4 separate regions of the Homo sapiens genome follow, and regions 1, 2 and 4 are each linked to region 3. Evidence: promoter capture Hi-C in 16 types of primary human blood cells and fetal thymus (Javierre and others, 2016). All regions are on one chromosome and are shown on one strand. Each heading gives the region's core, a stretch centred on a gene start or on the middle of the fragment in contact. The rest is flanking DNA. Distances are from core to core; before and after follow the strand shown. Region 1 has its middle 4.7 kb from the start of TRC-GCA9-3. Region 2 overlaps ZNF746 (zinc finger protein 746). Region 3 holds the start of ZNF282 (zinc finger protein 282). Region 4 has its middle 3.8 kb from the start of ZNF746.

The links. Contacts are between HindIII fragments. The CHiCAGO score rates a contact against its expected background, and 5 or more counts as called.
Region 1: a fragment that was not itself captured here is called in contact with the fragment with the promoter of ZNF282 in region 3 in 2 of 17 cell types (fetal thymus and neutrophils); the score reaches 5.6 in fetal thymus.
Region 2: a contact is called between a fragment that was not itself captured here and the fragment with the promoter of ZNF282 in region 3, in 3 of 17 cell types (non-activated CD4 T cells, total CD4 T cells and naive CD4 T cells). The highest score is 5.5, in non-activated CD4 T cells.
Region 4: a contact is called between a fragment that was not itself captured here and the fragment with the promoter of ZNF282 in region 3, in 9 of 17 cell types (neutrophils, naive CD8 T cells, non-activated CD4 T cells and 6 more). The highest score is 11.3, in neutrophils.

Annotation. Positions count from the first base shown.
Region 1 is chr7:149,629,358-149,632,557 of GRCh38, reverse strand. No RefSeq gene overlaps it. Among named protein-coding and RNA genes, the nearest start is that of TRC-GCA9-3, 4.7 kb to the left of the region's middle. The HindIII fragment of the contact is 1,007 bases long and covers 1,446-2,452 here.
Region 2 is chr7:149,480,902-149,484,429 of GRCh38, reverse strand. The region is part of intron 4 of ZNF746 (zinc finger protein 746); the gene reads left to right. Among named protein-coding and RNA genes, the nearest start is that of ZNF746, 15 kb to the left of the region's middle. The HindIII fragment of the contact is 208 bases long and covers 1,440-1,647 here.
Region 3 is chr7:149,194,065-149,197,389 of GRCh38, reverse strand. It overlaps ZNF282 (zinc finger protein 282), which reads right to left and starts at 1,844. Exons shown (of 8, transcript NM_003575.4): 1 at 1,636-1,844. The coding sequence starts at 1,800. RefSeq lists an enhancer at 777-826 and silencers at 1,267-1,626, 1,747-2,068, 1,887-2,176. The HindIII fragment of the contact is 5,667 bases long and covers 870-3,325 here.
Region 4 is chr7:149,499,931-149,503,298 of GRCh38, reverse strand. No RefSeq gene overlaps it. Among named protein-coding and RNA genes, the nearest start is that of ZNF746, 3.8 kb to the right of the region's middle. The HindIII fragment of the contact is 3,449 bases long and covers 372-3,368 here.

The DNA of each region.
Region 1 (3,200 bases), core at 700-3,199, 440 kb before region 3:
GGAGTTCAATCTGTGATGTATTAAATTGAATCCATCTGTTAAATGGTCTAATGGAGATGTCAAAAATGAAGCTGGAGTTCGAAGGGGAGGTGTTGGCTAAAGATATAAATTTGAGGGTCATCATCCCATTAAAGCCGCAGGATGGAATGAGAGCACTGAGGAAGTGGGAGTGAAAAGAAAAGTGGTCTAGGAACTAAGACCTGGGCCCTCGAATGTTTAAAAATGGGGATGTTAAGGAGAAACCAGCAAAAGAGATTGAGGAAAAGTGGCAGAGAAGTACAAAGAAAACAACAGAAAAAGAGTGACAGCCCCAATGTCGATTGAAAAAAAAATGCTACTGAGGGCTTGAATTAAAGATGAGAATCACCCATGACACATGGTCACCAAGGACTGTGACAAGCACAGTCTCAGTGAAGTGGAGCACTTGGGTGGGTGTTCTCCTGGGAAGCCCTCCTGACCCTCCTGATGGGTGGGACCCCTGCCACATGCTCCATGGCTCCTGTATGTCTATCAAAGCACACACAGTTCACCATAATTGCTGCAAAGATGTGCCTGTAGGGTTCCCTGTATATCATGAATGGCCAGTACATATATGAATATGCTCAAATGTGTCAATAAAAAAGAGAGGATATATTAATGGAAGGAGATCCCAGGGAAAGCCAAAGGGTGGATAAAGAACACAGGATGTGCTCTAGAGAGGAGCAGGCAGGCTTTTCCTCTTAGCCTGGAGGGGATGAGGAGAAGGTGAAGATGCAGAGCAGAGGATGCTGGGGGGCCTCCATGGCCTTGGTCTTCTCAGTCAGATAGAAAACAAAGTCTTCCAAAGAGAATAAAGGAGGTAGGGTGGGAATCATTACTTGGGAAGAAGGGCAAAGTGTGAATCAGGCACTGTGGGAAATGGAGAAGAAGTGAATTAGAAAGGAATAGAATCATTGCTCATTAGAGAGAGGCACTGGTTGAGGTCAAACTGGTGTAGATTTGCAGTGGGACCATTTGCCTGGCTCTACAATTTACTCCATCAAAGACTGGCTTCCCCAGAGCAAAGGTGGGAAAGGCCAAAGGCGTGTGTATCCGCGGAAGCAGAAGGGCTCATGAGAGAGGTAGATAGACCACAGACCAAGCTCTCAAAGGAGCTGGAATCATGACTGAGAGGCCAAACATGGGATCAATAATGGGCAGGCAGATAGCTGAGCCCCAAGGTGGCCCTGCGGTCATGGGAACAGAGAGAGGTAGACAAGATTAAGGTCAAAATGAGGATAATGAAACATTTTTGGTAACAGTAAGAACATGTAAACATCAGAAAACGTGTCATAAAAGGACTTTTCTGATTCTAAGATCTTGAAAGGGAATAGTTTAAGTGATGATCAGGTTTGGCTATGAATGCTGAACACCCAAAATAACAAAGGATGGAAGCAAAACAAAAACAAGCAAACAAACCAGAAGCTTCCTTTTCTCCCACATAAAAGTCCACAGCTAGGTGGTCCAGGCATGGCTTTCCATAGGGTCAAGAACCCGATTTCTTCTTTGTGGCTGTCTGGCTGGCTTGGCTTTCATTCCAGCATGCCATCACCCACATTAGCATCTCATCGACCTCCCAGCCAGTAGGAAGGAGGAAAGACAAGCCTCTCCATATAAGAACACCCATCACTTTCACCTGCATCTCATTGACCAGCCTTATGCCTATGGCCTCACAGCTCCAAGGGGGTCTGGGAAATGCAGTTTTTCTTCTGGGAAGCCATGTGCTCAGCTGATAACCAAAAGGCAGGGTAGAAGACACTGGTGGAAAACTCTGAATCTCTGCCTCACCACACACCTTGAAGGCCGCAGTGAACGGAGTTTGTGAACATTCCTAGAGCCAGGAAGATGGAAATCTTGGGAGGCCTTAGCATTGGAAGCACATTACCTTGGAGTTTGACATTCCCGAGAATGAAAGCAGGAGGAGGTGAGGAAAATACGATTGTTAGCCTAGTTCTAAAAATTTCCACTAGGTTTGTGGAGAAGACATGAATGTGGAGAGGAGAGCGTGGTGAAAGGAGATGGCTTTGAGAGAGAAGCAGGGAGGGATGGTGGAGGAGCTGGGGTTTGGGGGCAACATGGAGAATGAGGCTGAGAAGGTGACCCCACCCTCTCAGTTCTGGAGGTTGAAGGGGAGGGATGGCTTCACGGGAAAGCTGGCCTTCAGATGTACAAGGAGGGATAAAAAGGCAGACTCCCAGGGCAAGGTTAAGGAGGAAGGAGACTGTTTATAGAGTAGCTGGAGGGCTGGCGGGCTTGGGTGGAGGAGCTAAAACAGTAATGGGGATACAGGAAGGAGGCTGCCCCAAGAGACCATTTTCACTATCAGAAGGCATTGGAGGGCAGGGACGGGAAAGGGGCAAGTACCCAAGTTCTAGGCCAAAGCTCTAAGTGTGAAACTGGAACAGCAAAAGCCACTTCTTAAAAAATGTAAGCTTTTGTGAGTACAAAGTGGTATATATATTTACGGGGCACATGAGCTGTTTTGGAAGAGGCATGCGATGCGAAATAAGCTCATCATGGGGATTGGGGTGTCCATCCCCTCTAGCATTTCTTGTTTGAGTTACCAATGCCACTTTTTGGAGGAAAAAAAAAGTACTAAATAAAAAATTCGAATATTTTGTTAACAAAAGGAATCTGCTTTAAGGAAAAGAAAATTATAAAGCACGTCACCAAAGATAAAAGAAGTTCTGTTATTCAGGCTCCTACATCTTATACTAAAAAGAAAGGTCACAGGATACAGAATATTTTCAACTCAGGGGAGTAGAGCAAAGCACCATTTGCTAAATGGTCAAATTAGGCAGAGCCTCAAGTGACACTACACTTGACCAGGCTCTGTCTTCAATGCCTGCTTCTCTGTTGTGTTTTCCTGCCATTCAGTGTAAAGATAGTAAGACTTTCTTGCTGTCACATAGTTTTATTACAAGAACCTCTTTTTAACCTATCTAAAGTAGAAACTTCTGTTGTTCATATAAATCAGAAGAATTAATAAACATATTTTAGGTAGTTCTGAAAAAGATTCATAAAAGGTGATTAGTGTAAGGGATACTAAAAATCATGAATTGTGCTTCTGAATTCTATGCTGTATAGCTGAACCTCCATGAATTTTGACATTTTGTACCAAAAAAGCTGTTTGTTCTCCAAAGCATAGAATGCCATCACATCCTTTAGCTTTTGAGATGGTT
Region 2 (3,528 bases), core at 294-2,793, 290 kb before region 3:
TACATTTTTTTCTCCTTAACCTGCTAGTAAGGTAAATTATGTTACTTTCTAATGTTGAACCAACCTTGCAGTCTTGGAATAAACCTAACTTTGTCATGATCCTTTATGAACATTGCTGTATGCTAATTATTTTGTTTAGGATTTTTGAATCTTTGTTCATGGATGAGATGGGCTTGTAATTTTCTTTTCTCAGACTGTTTTTGTCTGGTTTCGGTATTAAAAATATGAGCTATGATGTATTCATTCTGTTTTTAATTTTCAGAGAGTTTTTGTAATGTTGGAATTATCTATTCCTTCAACATTTAGTAGAAAACACCAGTGGGGCCACCTGAGCCTTAAGTTTTCTTTGTGGGGAAGATTTTTTACTACCGATGTAATTTATTTTAGTTACAGGACTATTCAGGTTTTCTATTTCTTCTTTAGTTTTGGCAGGTTGAAATTTTCCTAGGAATTTGTCCATTTCCCCAGAGTTTTCAAATTACTTGGAATAACATTCATAATATCCTCTATATCTTTTAAATCTCTGCTGCATTTATCATTATGTTCCCTTTTTCATTCTTCCAATTGGTTATTGGTGCTGTCTCTCCCATTCTCTTGATAACCTTGCTAGAGGTGAATTGGTTTAACAGTCTCTTCAAATAACCAACTTTGACTAACTATATTCTATCTTTGTCTTCTCTTTTATTAATTTATGATACTCTTATATGTATTATTTCCTTCTACTTTTGAAAAGGTTCTTAAATGTTATTTATTTTCTAATGTCTTGCATTGACGCTTAACCCATTAATTTTTGACCTGTGTTTTTGTTTTTTTTTTTATTTTTTTACACGGAGTCTCGCTCTGTCGCCAGGCTGGAGTACAGTGGCGCGATCTTGGCTTACTGCAATCTCCACTTGCCGGGTTCAAGCCATTCTCCTGCCTCAGCCTCCCGAGTAGCTGGGACTACAGGCACATGCCACCACACCCAGCTAATTTTTGTATTTTTAGTAGGGATGGGGTTTCACCATGTTGGCCAGGATCATCTCGATCTCCTGACCTCGTGATCCACCTCAGCTTCCCAAAGTGCTAGGATTACAGGTGTGAGCCACTGCGCCCAGCCCCTGTGTTATCTTTTTTAATATAAACATACAAGGCTATAAAATTTCCTCTAAGTACCATTGTAGCTGTAGCCCATACATTTTGATAGATAATATTTTCATTAATATTGGGTTCCAGATACCTTCTAATTTTCATTGTGATTTTTTTCTTAGACTCAGATTATTTAGAAAGCGGTATATTTTAAAATTTTAGTATGTATGGGAGTTATTGATTTCAAACTTAATTGTGTTGTAGCTAGAAAATGCAGTGTGTAAAATACTAGTCGTTTAAATTTTGCTGAAGTCTGTTTTATGACCTAGAAAGTGTTCATTTTTCCTTAACGCTCTGTAGCTTAAAAAGCTTGTGTTTTCTCTGTGTTTGGAATCTGCTTAGGTCCCTTTAATCAGGTTTGTTAGTAGAGTTGCTCAAATTTTATATAACCTTTAGTTGGCTAGATTTATCAATTACAGAGAGATATATCAAAATCCCCTACTGTAAAGATGGATTTGTTCATTTCTCCCTAGAGTTTTATCAGTTTTGCTTTATTATTTTGAAGCTATATGATAAGCTTAAAAAATTAGAGTTATTGGCTGGGTGTAGTGGCTCACGCCTGTAATCCTAACACTTTGGGAGGCTGAGACGAGTGGATCACCTGAGGTCAGGAGTTTGAGGCCAGCCTGGCCAACATGGTAAAACTCTGTCTCTACTAAAGATATAAAAAATAGCCAGGCGTGGTGGCACACATCTGTAATCCCAGCTACTCGGGAGGCTGAGGCAGGAGAACTGCTTTAACCTGGCAAGTGGAGGTTGTAGTGAGCCGAGATTGCACCATTGCACTCCAGCCAGTGCAGCAGAGCAAGGCTCCATCTCAAAAAAAAAAAAAAACCTTAGAATTACTTTATCTTCCTGGTTAGTTTACTATTATGCAGTAATTCTTTTTATTTCTATGAATATTTTTACTTTCAAAGTTTATTTCATGTGATATGGTATAGCTACATCATTTCTTTACATTGTTCTGGCTTAGTACATCTTTCATTCTTTTACATTGCTTTCTGCGTCCTTCTGTTTAGGTATGTCTCTTGTAAACAGCAGATAGCTGGGGGATTTGTTTGGTTTTAGTCTGAAAATCTTTACCTTTACCTTTTAAATATCCAAACAGTAGCCACTATCCACCTGTAGCTACTGAGCACTTGAAATGTGCTGTAAGGATAAAATACATACCGTATTTCAAAAACCGTGTACAAAAACAAGCCGTGAGTACAAAATATGCATGTATAAAATAATATAAATCATTTTATATTGATTATACGTTGAAGTAACATTTTTTATATCTTGGGCTAAATAAAATGTACTGTTAACATTTATTTCACCTGTTCTTACTTTTTTAACATGACTACCAGAGTACTTAAAATTAGATATGTGGTTCACATTCTTTTTTCTTCTTAGCTCTGGTCTAGACCATTTACATTGATTATGGTTATTAGTTTATTTGGATTCTTTTTACCATCTTAAATTGTGCTGTTAATCTTTAGTTCTGCCTTTTCTGTATTTTTCCTGCCTCTCCTTTGGGAATTATTCATTTAGGTATTTTCCTTTTCAAACTATTGTTATTTTAAATTAATTTGACAGTTATGTATTCTATTTCTATTGTTATAGAGGAATCTTTAGAAATTTTTTCTTCCTTTAGAAGTTATTTTTTGTGGGTCTGATGGTAATGAGCCCTCAGTTTGTGTGTGTATATGAGTTTATATGTGTTTATATGTGTGAAAATATCTTTATTTCATCCCTATACAGTGAGTCCTCTGTATTTATGTATTCCACATTTGTGGATTCAGGTAACTGCACATTTGAAATATTCAGGAAAAAAGGTGTCTACTAAACATATACAGACTTTTTTCTTGTCATTATTCTCTGAACAATACAGTGTAGCAACTATCTACATAGCATTTACGTCGTATTAGGTATTATAAGTAATCTAGAGGTGATTTAAAGTATACAGGAGGATGTGTGTGGGTTATATGCAAATACTACACCAATTTATACAAGGGACTTGAGTATTGTGGGATTTTGGTATCCATGGGGTGCCCTAGAACCAATCCCCCACTGACACCAAGGGACAACTGTAGTGGAAAGACATAATTTTAGCTTGAGTGTTATTTTCTCTTAGCTTTTGAAGATAATTTGCCCCTTTTTTCTGGCTTTTGTTGTTGCTATTGAGAATCTGCCATCAGTCCAATCAGGATTCCTTTGTGGATGATCTGCATTTTTTCTTTCCCTGCTTTTAGGTCTCTTGGGTGATCTGCAGTTTTAATACAATGTGTCTAGATGTGGATTTATTTTCTTTTATCCTGCTTTAATCACTGAAATGTTTCACCAATTTGGGAAAATGTGTTATCTTCCCTCTTTGAATTTTGCCTTGCCCCCTTTCTAACCTTTTATTCTGGAACTTTT
Region 3 (3,325 bases), core at 595-3,094:
CCCCCATATACAACTACTGTTTCATAAACATTTTCCAAATTGAAAATAGGTTCACTAAAAAAGGTCACTCATTAGAGGTGAAGAGGGGATGTCCCTCACACCCAAGAGGACCAAGAGAAAGAAAAACTCCTCTGGGACCCCTCCTTGCTTCCTGGGGAAGGGGTGCCCCATGGCCTGGGGACTCCCCCTTTTATCTTCCAGCACAGAGCCCTCACCCCAGAAGGGTAAACTAATTGGTGCAATTGAGAGCTGAGACCTATGGCTAAGGGGGGCTGGTTGAGGCTGGTGACAGTTCACTGGTCATCTGGGACCTGGTGTCAGACTCAGGGCTCACTGGACCACATGGGCTGGCAGCCGACTCTCCTTCACACCTGGGACAGGAAGAGGTGTCATTTTCTGTCCTCCCGATGGCTGCAGAAAAGGCCCTCAGGCTAGGAAAAGGGGAGGCCTGCTGCTTGGGGCGATCTGGGCAGACCAGCCCCACTCTCTGACTCAAGAGCAGCCCTGCTCCGGGGCAGACCTGCTCCGGGACACAGCAGAGTGGAGAGCAGGGCCCTAGGATCGCCAGGCCCTGTAATACCAGTAAGAGGTGCTGGTGTTTCCATCAAAAGCACCCATTCCTCCATCACAGAGGCTCCACTCCGCCCTAGCCCACAGAAGGGGACAGAGTCCACAGTAGAAGTTAAGAAAGTCCCGGGGCCCAGTTTAGTTTTCTCGGGTTTGAAGCCCTAACCCTGAAAATGATCAAACACAACACAGCAGCCCCTGGCTCCCTCGTTAGCACCTGGCTGAGAGCCGCGTGGTGAGCAGAGGGGCCCCTGAGCAGCCCAGCCCCAGGGTGGGCCCAGAGAGTCTTCCCTGGGCAAGCTTTCAGGCCTCTCTGAGGATCCACCTCCCCTGGTTTTATACCCAATTCTGGAGCACCGGTTCTGCCCACGGAGATCATCGATGGAGCCTGAAGAAATGCCTGGTGCTACTCTCACCCGTCAGAGACCCTGAGCTCTGGGACCAGGCAAGGGCTCAGGAGTCTTAAAAGCTGCCCAGGCCATTCCAACATGCGGCCAAGTTTGTCAACCGCAGGAAAGACCCCGAAGTCATCTCTCCATGGCCCCCTCCCTGGATCACACCCGGTGCAGGGGGAGAGTGAATTACTCATTACACTTGGTGAAAGGTGGTAATCAAACATTTAAAAAATATCCCCGTCAAATTGGCCACCGTGTAAACACGAACGAGGCATTCACTTCTGCGGCCGGGCGGAAGCACTGCCCGCGAAGCTCTCCGCCGGCCGGGCGCAAAGGGAGCCCCAAGCCGGGGCTCAGCCACAGGGTCAGAGCTCTGCCAGGTCCCGGAAAGGACGGTCCCGGCCCCCGCCCCGCGGGGCCTCCGCACTTGGGCCCGGCGACCGCTGCTCCGCGCCGCGCGGGCCAGGCCTGCCCTTCCGGGCCTGCGTCGGGCCCGCTCCGTCCTGCCCGCCGCGCAGCCCGGCCGTGCCCCGCCCGCCTCGGGCCTCGCCTGGGCGCGGAAGCTGGGAGGGCGCCGCAAGGCTACCGGAGGACGGCGCGGCCCGGTCCCGCGGCCCAGCCCGCGCCCCGCCCCCACGGCAGCGCGGCCATGGCGCCGGCGGGGTTCTCCCACCTGCATGGGCGGCATTCCCTCGGCCATTTCCCCGCGCAGCGCCGGCTCCTGGTGGCAGACCTCCTCCGGGGGCAGAGCCTGGGCCCAGCTCCAGCTCCCGCTGTCCAGCCCCAGGCCCTGGATGCCCAGCTGCTGAGGCTGCGGCCGTGTTGACACAAACTGCATCCTGGGAGTGCTGTTCCCCGCTCGGGTCGGCCAGGGAGAAGAAGAACGTTTTCCAGGCGCCTTCCCCCTCTCCGGGGCCGGACAGCTCCATCTACAGCCCGTAGGAGCAAACAGTCCCCTTCGGCGGCGCTCCCCGCCCCTTGGCAGCCCGCGCGCCAGCCAATGGCCTCGGAGCTCCTGCCCGCCTGCGGGGACCTACCGGGGCCACTCCCGGACTGGGGTCGCCACCGCCCCAAAACTGAGAGGCGGCGGCCTCGCCCAGGGGTCAGGCCCCCTCAATCTGGGATGGCCGACTTTAAAGGCCCAAACTATGCGAGGACCTGGACTGTGGGCTTGATTACTGTTAATTCTGCAAATGTATTGGGCATCCCGGGAGAAAATAGTGCCTGACCCTTGTGAAAATTTTGCAGGAGTAATTCTGTCTTCAGACACTTTCTTCTGGCCTTCTGCCTTCCCTCACTCCTTTGCAGACTTTACCTCCCACTCCCCTTCTTCCCAATCCAGATTTACCTGGACCCATCCCAGAGCTTTTGCACTGTTATGGATGATAGAGAAGTGATTCATGTTAAGGTGTCAAAAGAGGGCTGAGCTCTTTCTCCCAGGTAAGGTGCAGTGCATTTTAACAGTGGCCTCTTCAAACACCTTGAAATTGGGTTGGGCGTGGTGCCTCACACCTGTAATCTCAGCACTCTGAGAGGCTGAAGCAGGAGAACGACTTGAGCCCAGGAGTTCGAGACCAGACTGAGCAACATATTGACACCCCATCCCTATAAAAAATAAAAATTAGCCGAGCGCGGTGGCTCACATCTGTAATCCCAGCACATTGGGAGGCTGAGGCAGGCGGATCACCTGAGGTCAGGAGTTCGAGACCAGCCTGGCCAACATGGTGAAACCCCGTCTCTACTAAAAATACAAAAAGATTAGCCGGGCGTGGTGGCGTGGGCCTATAATCCTAGCTACTCGGGAGGCTGAGGCAGGAGAATCGCTTCAACCTCCGAAGCGGAGGTTGCAGTGAGCCAAGATCGCGCCAGTGCGCTCCAGCCTGGGCAACAGAGCGAGACTCCATCTCAAAAAATAATAATAAGGCCGGGCGCCGTGGCTCACGCCTGTAATCCCAGCACTTTGGGAGGCCAAGACGGGCGGATCACGAGGTCAGGAGATCGAGACCATCCTGGCTAACACGGTGAAACCCCGTCTCTACTAAAAATACAAAAAAATTAGCCGGGTGTGGTGGCGGCGCCTGTAGTCCCAGCTACTCGGGAGGCTGAGGCAGGAGAATGGCGTGAACCCGGGAGGCGGAGCTTGCAGTGAGCCGAGATCGCGCCACTGCACTCTAGCCTGGGCAACAGAGCAAGACTCCGTCTCAAAAAAAAATAATAATAATAATAATAAAATAAAAAATAAAAATTACCCGGGCATGATGGCTAATGCCTGTACTCCTAGTTACTCAGGAGGCTAAGGCTGTAGGATTGCTTGAACTCAGGAGTTGGAGGTTGCAGTGAGCTGTGATTGTGCCGTTGTGCTC
Region 4 (3,368 bases), core at 847-3,346, 310 kb before region 3:
AGCACCAATAAATGACATAAAGATCTTTTGTTATACTAAAAACCGTGAGTTTTCTGTTTAGAAAATACTGTCACCTTGATTATATACGTTTCACATATATAATCTGGCTGAGGACCCAGTAAGTACTCAGTATAGACTTGTTGACTAATTTCTACTGAGTGGGTTTTGTCCCTAGCCAAGCTCAAAAGGACTCAGTGTCCCTATAAAATATTCTTCATTTCATCTGGCTAGGCTTTGATGTGACAGGCTTCCCCCACTCTGAAAGCCATGAGAGACTATTGTGAGGTCCTCAAAAATTGACAACTCAAAGGTCAGACCTATAAAACTTCAAAATCTCTTGTAAATATGAGTCAGCACCTGAGTAATAAGCTTGTTTCTATTATAATTAATAATATTGCTGGGGTGGGCCATGTTCTGCACAGTAAGTACTCCTTGAGAAATCTAATTTTTGTACCTAGAACACTATTTTCAAAAGCTGTGGAGATTTTAGTTATGGGAGAATTCAATAACTTTAGTTATTAAAAATTTTTAATGAATCTAAAAACAAAACTCTGATGCTTGTTTCTTATGTCTGGATTTTTCCATATTTCCATATTTGGAGTTTGCTCCAAATATGGAAGGGCCTCCTATATTCTTTTACCATCCACCTCACCTCCACTGGCGCAAGGTGACCTCACTCCTGCCCTGGAGAGCTCAGGTGCAGAGACTTGCACTCTGCTGAGGGCGTCTGGAATGCCCTGTTGTTCATTCCTGTCGCTCAAAGTTCTGACCCCAGAGAAGATGCCAGGGCCCTGGGACGGGTCACTCTCTAAGCTGTTGTCAGTCATAAACACCCTAGGTGTAGGCAGGTTTTAACATCACCATATCAGAATAACTGAGGCTATGGACGCTTCTAGAAAACTTGAAAGGCAATCATGGATGCCAGGGCACTGAAACTTCCTCCACACATCTGCCACTTGCCCACCTTGCCCCTGGCTTTCTAATGCCACATCAGGATCTTACCTCCAGGTTGGCAGAGGGTGATGCCATCATGGTGGAAACTCAGCAACACCTGAGATGCCTGGAGCTATGCTTCTCAGACGGAGGCACGGACCCCCTGAAAGGGAGGTCCAGGGTGAGGAGGGATGTGGGAGTGATACAGGAGGGAGGCAGGAAAGTGCTGGGTAGAGAAAGGCAGGGTCCCTGGCAAAGGCTCTACCCTCAGGCCTGTGCCCACTGACCTAGGTGAGGACAGGTATTTCTGTTTCTGTGGCTAAATGTGGCATTTCCAAGACCACCCTGGCCTGCCACACACCCCATCCTGTGCCTTTAAACATCCTGAGACCCTAGTGGGCACGGACACGAGCAGCTGGACATCGAGAGGAACTCAACAGCAGAAGAACACACGGGCAGACACCAGCAGACGCCGGCAGGCCATCTATGACGGGACGACACGGAGTTCAGCAGAGGCCAGTCGGAGGAGGGCCCGGCCACTGGGTGGCCTGACTCCAGGGAAAGGCCACCTTCCCACTCCATCCTCCTTCTGGCCTCTCCATCCACCTCACTGAGAGCTGCCACCACTTAATAAAAAGCCTTGCACCCATCCCCCAAGCCCACGCGTGATCTAATTTTTCTGGCACACTAAGGCAAGAACCCCAGGATACAGAAAGCCCTCTGTCCTTGTGATAAGCCCCACAGCCTGCCTGCCTACATGCTCCCGCTAGAGGTTTGAGCAGCGGGGCACTGACAAAGTGAGCTGCAGCCCCCATCTCACACCCTGAGAGGCGGATGAGGGAATTGTTCCCATTTCAGGAGCAAGAGAGGGGTTTTGAAACATCAAATAAATTTTTTACTCTGGTCAATAAATCAAAATAATCTTTTAAAATTAAAACAAGCACAGAAGTTTTATAAAGGAGACAAGATTTAATGGATTGTTAAAGTATGACAATTTATCACACCTTCTGGCTCACCAAGGGCCATTTCAGGCAGCGTCCAGACCCACAGGACATACATTCACTTTTCTCTGTACTCAAGGGCTCTGGTATAGAATATTTTTGAGGCACTGGCCTCCAGCCAGCCAACCCCAGAGGACTGTGAGTCTCCCAGCTCCCAGCAGAAGGAAAGGAGGTAGCTTCTCAGAGCCATGGCCCTGACCATCCGCATCTGCAAATTTCACTGAGGGATTTGAGGCAGGAACTTGGCACTGGCTCCATGGGAGAGACTCCAGGGCCAGCTGCAAGTTCTCCAGCACTTCACCACATCTAACCGCTGCAGGGTAACGCTCAATGTGAGAGCACTCAGACAATGTAAGGGAAGTTAAGCTCGAGCAGACACCACCTGGAGCCCAAGGATGCCTGCTGCAATGCCTGGCCAACTTTCACCATGCCTTTGTATCTGTCAGGATAGGCTAGGTTAAACTGTGGAACAAGCAACCCCCAAACCATGTTACAACAAAAAGTTTCATGTTCATGCTGTAAGTAGCTCATCATGGGATGGCTGGGGAGTCTACTCAATGTCCCCCACCTCCAGGATGCAGGCAAATACAGCACCCACCTCCTCAAATATTGCTGGGTTACCATAGTAGAGGGAAAGAAAAAACATCAGCCAGAACTTGTCACATGGTCCAACCCAGCCAGAAGAAACCAGGAAGTGCCATCCAGCCATGGTCTTCAAGAGAAACCAGCTGGAAATATTTAGTGGGCAGCAATGATTACCACAGTCTTTTTGAAAACCCCAAGCCTGAACTTTTAGGCTGTGTGCCTGGTCCCAGGGGAAAAGCTCAGGCCTAAGGGAGCAGCTGGAAAAATAGAGGTCCACCTGTTCTGCTGTACCTGCTGGAGTATAGGAAGCACTCATAGGGGTGCATGGGTCCATAGTCCCTACATCTACACAGTCTATGTGCAGTATGAACCACACACTTCCTGCCTCCCTGACACCTTGAGTTGACATGTGGTCTCATGTTCTCTAGCCCTTCCAGGCTCCTTCTGGGTGTGTTGAAAATGCTTTATGATTTTTCTTCTAGGAATACTCAGCAGGAAGGTGGAGATGGTAGGGGCTGCAGAAGTATTAGAGCAGAGGAGGGGATGATTCTTTGGACCACAGTTGATCACACCACACAGAGCAATCAATTAAGACTTGTACTAAATCATTACTTTATGTTGCCTAAACCTGCCCAGTATTAGGCACTGCAGGAGAGACAAGAGAAATAAGATATAGTCCCTGCTCTCAGGGAACTTATAATCCAAGAGGTGAGTTAGGAACTACTACCTTGTATTGTAATTTTTTTCTCAGTGCCATATGAATGGCACCGAGAATAAAAATTATTAGAGTTGGGACAATGCAGAGCTTGCTGCAGCCGTGATTGGCATGGAGAGACTTAACTGGAAGAA